Linked DNA regions of Homo sapiens: region 1 is linked to region 2. Evidence: promoter capture Hi-C in 16 types of primary human blood cells and fetal thymus (Javierre and others, 2016). All regions are on one chromosome and are shown on one strand. The core of a region is centred on a gene start or on the middle of the fragment in contact, and the rest is flanking DNA. Distances in the headings are between cores, read along the strand shown.

The links. Contacts are between HindIII fragments. The CHiCAGO score rates a contact against its expected background, and 5 or more counts as called.
Region 1: a fragment that was not itself captured here is called in contact with the fragment with the promoter of GCOM1 in region 2 in 1 of 17 cell types (naive CD4 T cells); the score reaches 5.6 in naive CD4 T cells.

The regions. Positions count from the first base shown.
Region 1 is chr15:57,719,925-57,723,004 of GRCh38, forward strand. No RefSeq gene overlaps it. Among named protein-coding and RNA genes, the nearest start is that of POLR2M, 15 kb to the left of the region's middle. The HindIII fragment of the contact is 1,002 bases long and covers 1,135-2,136 here.
Region 2 is chr15:57,590,201-57,593,435 of GRCh38, forward strand. It overlaps GCOM1 (GCOM1, MYZAP-POLR2M combined locus), which reads left to right and starts at 1,704. Exons shown (of 17, transcript NR_104371.3): 1 at 1,704-1,909. It overlaps MYZAP (myocardial zonula adherens protein), which reads left to right and starts at 1,704. Exons shown (of 13, transcript NM_001018100.5): 1 at 1,704-1,909. The coding sequence starts at 1,835. RefSeq lists a silencer at 1,593-1,702. The HindIII fragment of the contact is 3,808 bases long and covers 1-2,497 here.

The sequences.
Region 1 (3,080 bases), core at 386-2,885, 130 kb after region 2:
CGCTGCACCCACTAATGTGTCATCTAGCATTAGGTATATCTCCCAATGCTATCCCTCCCCCCTCCCCCGACCCCACCACAGTCCCCAGAGTGTGATATTTCCCTTCCTGTGTCCATGTGATCTCATTGTTCAATTCCCACCTATGAGTGAGAATATGCGGTGTTTGGTTTTTTGTTCTTGCGATAGTTTACTGAGAATGATGGTTTCCAATTTCATCCATGTCCCTACAAAGGATATGAACTCATCATTTTTTATGGCTGCATAGTATTCCATGGTGTATATGTGCCACATTTTCTTAATCCAGTCTATCATTGTTGGACATTTGGGTTGGTTCCAAGTCTTTGCTATTGTGAATTCTTCATTTTCACAGGACCTGTCTCTAATCGACATCGCATTCTCTGGGGAGCCAGGCTGTGAGCTAATGTGGAAGGTAGTTTGTGGGATTATCTCCCTTTCCTATAACTGGGAGGTTGAGGTGATTTGTTCAAGGTCGCTCAGAGGCAGCCAAGAAAAGAACCCAGCACTCAAGATTCTAGGCCCTTGACTGCATGGCCTTGCAGGTGAATACCACAAATCAAGGCTGCGTTCAGGTGTTAACACGTGCTAACGCCAGACAAGAGCTCAGATGACTCTGGGGGTGTTTGTCAGGTCTCCATGACATTCTACAAGAGAGCTTTTTTCTTCTGATGATTTTTTTTATTTGCAGTGTTTCGTTTTTAATCATCTTACGGCTGTGTGATCATTTCAGTCACTGCTGGAATCTTCACTCCTCCCTCCTTACTTGATGGTCAGCTGCATAAAACTTTTCAGGAGAAGAGATATAAGGAAAAGTAAAGTGTCATGGGCTTTACTCAGAGGACCAGGTCAATCTGGCAGTTTAGCCTTCCCAGGCTTAATGACATAGTTCGTAACACTAAAAGTAAAGTTGTTAGGACAAAAATAATTCTGTCGTTGCACAAAAAAAGTTGGGAATGCCTGTGCCAAATAAAAGGATTATATATCCAGCTTTTATGGGGAGCATATAGTCATTTAAAAAATATGGCAAATCACATTATTGGCTAGCTGCTTGCTAAAGGGGGGTGGAGTGGAGGAGTTTCTTAAAGCTATTATTTTAATTTCTGGCTAAAGTGAGGAAGCTTTGATACTGGGCTGATGAAATAAACCTAGTGTGGGATAATACTGAACCAGAGCCAGACCACAAATCAGACGCGATTCTGAAAGTACAGCATAAAAGCCTGAACAATTAAATATGATCTATTACTTCCCAGATGGTTTTAGAAAACTTGGAATTTAAAAAAAGGCAAAAAAAAATTAAAAAAGAGGGTAAGCCACTGGAATAGCATTAGATTATTAGATTTAGGATTTAAATACCACTATTTCCTTTGAATCCAGTGGGAAGTTATGTACTCTCATGACTATTAAGTCTGTAAGATGAGGTCAGTGACCCCTTATCTAATGTATGAGGTATGTTTTAAGAGAACAAAATTTCAAAGTGTGGTCTTTATAGAGCATTTTGAGATCTAAAAGAGATTCTATATGAAAACCTTATTGTAACGATGGTAACAATTATGATTGAAGTAGTTTAGAAGGTACCTTTGGCCATATGAAGTAAAATGTTTCAAAATCACCACCATATGAAACTTTTAATTTAGTGTTAAAATTAACTGAGAACAATAGGGACTCCCTAAAAAAGCTATTTTGACAAGGGGAAATTAGGACATTGAGCTAAGGAGAGATCCAACTTCATATGGAAAAATTGCACATTATTAAGGCAAAAGAATGAGAGTTGTAAATCAAGTCCTTATTTTAGAGCATACAGAAATACTCCTTAAAAGAGGGAGACTCGGCTCAGTGCTTATAAATTTTGTCTGAAAATATTGCTAGTAAATATATCCTTTCTCCTAATCAGTACCACCTATATTTGTATTGAATTAAATAGCTTTTCTAGTGATTGTGTTGTAAAAGTGAAAGCCTATCTTCTGTCGATATTTAGATTTTTAATAAAAAAGATTTTTTTCTCCCCTTTAGTTACTCTTAGTGGGGGTAAAAACGAAGCACCATTAGAAACACCGTAACTGGCAACAGAAAACAAATCTTACATTGAATTAACATCTTCAGATTTTAGGGAGGGAAGGAAGCTTAGTTATTTGTTCCAAACCCTGTAAGTGAAGAAACCGAGGCACAGAGAAGCACGGAGACTTGCTGTGGTTGGGCAGCTGGTTCCGACACAGCCAATTTTTTTCTTTCCTAGTTCAGTGCTCTTTGATTAATATGGAGTCATCTGATAATTAATTAACACATGTTTACAAAATGACTGAAAAAGCGCAGTGCCAGAAATCTAGTTTCTAATTTTAAAACTTTAGATGTTTTTAAAGATAGTCATAACCATTGCAGCTGGGTCCGATACTACAATTTTCTTGAACATGGGTAATGTGCTGCCGATTATTTATAAGCATGACCCCATTTTCCTTTTCACTGCCTGACTTGGTCTGTTTTGAATGTGCCCATTTTCACACCTCTTCTTTTCCATCTTCAGCAGTTCCACTTCCATCAGCCTACAGAAACTTCTCACCTGTCCTTCTGAAACCTCTTAGTCTTTTATCAGCATCCAAGGGTAACAAGACTCTTGGGGTCTGAACAGTATAGCTGGCTAATTAGCATCAATCAACTCTTATCAATATCTCAGTGCATATCAGATTATTAGATGATTTTTTCCTGAAGGAAGGTAGGGCTTAAAGCAATGGTAAATGGAACGGGCAAGTTTTTTGCGGGGTGGAGGGTGGTAGGAGAGAAGAGAGAAAATGGAACATGAAAGAGGAGGAAAAGGATAGGAAGCAGCCTGGAGGGGCCCTGAACAGCCAAAGGGTAGCAAGAAAGCATAATTTGGAAGAGTTGTCTATCACACTGTCAGCTCCTCCCTTCCCATTTTCTCTCACATCCACTTAAATTTTAAGTATTTGCTCCAAACATTTTCCTGAAAAAGCTTTTGTCAAGGTCACCAGTGACCTTCATGCTGCTAAGTTCAATAATCAATTTCCAGTCGTTTTTCTTGAACCCTTAGCAGTTTTTGATATAGGTGA
Region 2 (3,235 bases), core at 454-2,953:
CAATATGAAAAAGACTTGGGTAGATTAGAGGGCTTCGTGGAAGTGGAATGGGAAGGAACCTGTCATGAACAATTTTCTTTTTGGAAGGGATAGGTGGATGGGAGGATGCAGAGAGGAGTGTAGCAGAAAAGCAGAAGGACTTGGGTTAGAAGACTAGATGTGTAGTCTCAGCTGTTCACCAATTAACCTAATGTCTCTGGCCTCAGTTTCCTCATTTGCAAAACAGGGGCGATAACTGTAGCCCACCTTGTGGGGCATTGTGAGAATTGGTTGAGAAAATGCATATAAAGCACTTAGGACACAAGCACAGCTACTGTGAGGATGACGATGAGGATGGTGAAGAACAGGCTGTGCAACTTTGGGAAAGTCACTTGTATACACCGGCCTCAGTTTCCTCATCTACAAAAGGAGTGAGTTCCACAGGATCATCTGTAATTCTGTTTAGCAACATTTTTTTTTCAGCATCTTCCCTGTTGGTGCCATTGGGCATTCAGAGAGGGTCAAGGCCTGGCCTCTGCCCTCCAGAAGGACAGGGTACAGGCACACACATAGATAACTCTAACAGAAGACAGGGTCCCGCGGAGCTGCTAAGTTCCTGAGCATGCGTGTTTGGGGAAGGGGTTTCTGGAGAGCTCCGTGGGGAGGCAGTGCTTGACCTGGGCTTTGAAGACAGAGATTGTGTCTTTCCCTGCTGAAAAACACTTTGTCCTCAAGATAAAGGCCAAATTTCCAGCTAAGCACACAGGTTCCTCATGATGTCCTCAGCTCCCTTCCGCTGCTTCTCCACTGTTTTCCCACTGCACTGTGATACTTCCAATTCTTGAAACATATTTTATACCTTCCCTTGCTTTCCTTCCATCTTTGTGCATGCTAGTTCTTTTGACCTGGGACTCCCTCCTCCCTCTGTTAGGGGACAGCAGAGGGGACAAGCAAGGCACTAGGGTCGGACTGGGGGATTCATATCCTACCTTTGCCACTGAGAGGCCAGTGGGTCGCCTGCTGTGTTGCTCAATCCCTAGGTGAGTCAGCGTCTTCATCTGCAAAATGGGGATACAAGGTAACAACAGTGACTCCCTCAAAGGGCAATGGTGAGGATTAAATGAGGTAACACACGCAAAGTGCTCGCCAGGCAGGCCCACAGTAATCATTGAATAAATATGGGCAGTGTGGCCCACTCCTACTTGCATTTCAGGTCTTAGCTTAGTCATCACCTCCTCTGAGGTTGGCTGTGTGCTCCCTTAGTACATGGTATCTCCTCTTCTACCACAGCCCGGCACCTGTCATCCCCACCACACTGCAAACTCTCCGAGGCCAACAGCCAGTCGACTGGGTTGGCTGCTGGTGGGGACGCATAATAGGCATTCAGGAAATACTGAATGAATGACATGGGGTGAGGGTCCCAGTGATACGAGGGCGTGCAGAGGCTGTAGGGGGCAGTCCGGGGTGGGGGTAGGTCGTGAGACTGAATGGGCAGGTGGATCTCAACTCTGCGGGGGACAGAGAGAGCATGGGCGTCCAGGCTGTCCAGGGCTCCTTCTTGCCCTGGGACTGACCCTGGGAGGGCGCAGCGCCCTGGGAGAGGATGGTGCTCAACTTTAACCGGGTCGGCGCCCTCGGGAGAAAATGCAGCCTGACGGGTCGGGTGAGCGCGCTCGGCCCCGCCCCGGCCCGGCCCGGCCCCGCCCCCGGCCCCACCCCCGGGCCTTCGCGGTGCAGCTGAGGCTGCAAGTAGCCGGCGCCGTCCCGCGTCGCCCCCGCGCAGGGCGGGCCCCGCACGCTTATTCTGCCCGGGAGGAACGCCGGCGTCCAGCCCGCTACCGACCGCCGCTGCGGGATGCTGCGCTCCACGTCCACGGTCACCCTGCTCTCGGGCGGCGCCGCCAGGACGCCCGGGGCGCCCAGCAGGAGGGTGAGTAGCGGGGGCGGGAGCCGCCGCCGTCCCGTTCCCCCATCCCGGCCGCCCCCTCTAGAGGGGACTAGGGATGGGAAAGCTCGGGAGCCAGCACCTGGCCCCGACGCCCCACCCTGGGCTCAACTCCCCGGTCCTGTGCCGGCTCTGGCAGTGACCCTCCCGCTTGAGGTTTCAGGGGGCCCACCAGCTGGTAGGAGAGGGCTTAGGGGACTTTATGGAATTCCCAGAGATTTCCTCTCCTTCCTGCCTTTCTGTCAAGCCGAGTTTATTGGCGGCACCAGTTTAAAAATGAAGGAAGACATTTGTGCAGTGTCCCTACCTTGAGACTCAAAAGTAATGAATGTATTTAAAACTCAAACTTTCCTTCTTCCATTAATTAAAAGAAAGATGGGGTCACTTGTGTCCACTAGTGATAGGGTATCCACTAGTGATAGGGTAATTCTGGAGTGGGGTTAGCCAAGGTGGGCAAACCAGAACAGCAGCCGGCCGCCCAGGAGCCCGACTGTGTGGGACTCCGGTTTATGTAAACCACTTTCTTCTGTCTGATTTAAATATTAGCACAGTGACAACAATGGCAGCACTGAAAGCTTGGGACAGCATCTCCAGGGAAGGTTTCCCTTTGGAAGTGCTGTTTCTTTTTGATCTTTGTGGCATCTTTTCCCATCTCTCCAGATGCTCTGTAAAAGAAATGCTCCATCTTTCTAACACGGTCAGCACCTTAGAGCCACAGCCAGGGGCTTGGCTTGTGGCTTTTTAGTTCTTCCATTTATCATGATGTTCAATACTTATCATTTGGTACCTCTTTGCTCTGATTGAGACTTCTGTAATCGTGTTTCCTCAAGATTTAAACAGGTGGTTAAGTCCAAAGCAAAACCCCCACTGGTTCTGTCTGCGTGCAGGCTTGGACCTGCTTATTTGCTTTTACATGCCTTAAGCGAGTGATGGTGGTCACCTTATAAGCTGTCTTTCTTAGCTCTAGAAGAAAGGTGTGTTACTCTTGGGCATGGGCCAACTGATGGATTCTGGGGTGTGTGTGTGCGTGCACTCACCAGACACTTAGGTTGTGTACACAGGCGCACACACACACACACACACACACACACCCCAGAATCCATCAGTTGGCTCATGCCCAAGGTTGACAGAACTCCAGTTGTCCAATCATTAGCATCATAGAGTAAGATCTACATTGGGTCCAAGGGGGTTTCCAACCACAGTCCTGGCCTTACTCTAAGTTGGGTGTTTGTATTTTTCTATGGAAATCTTTCTCAATTTGAACACAATTGCAACTGAGAAAGAATGAAGTCACTGAAAAGCTAACCCTGA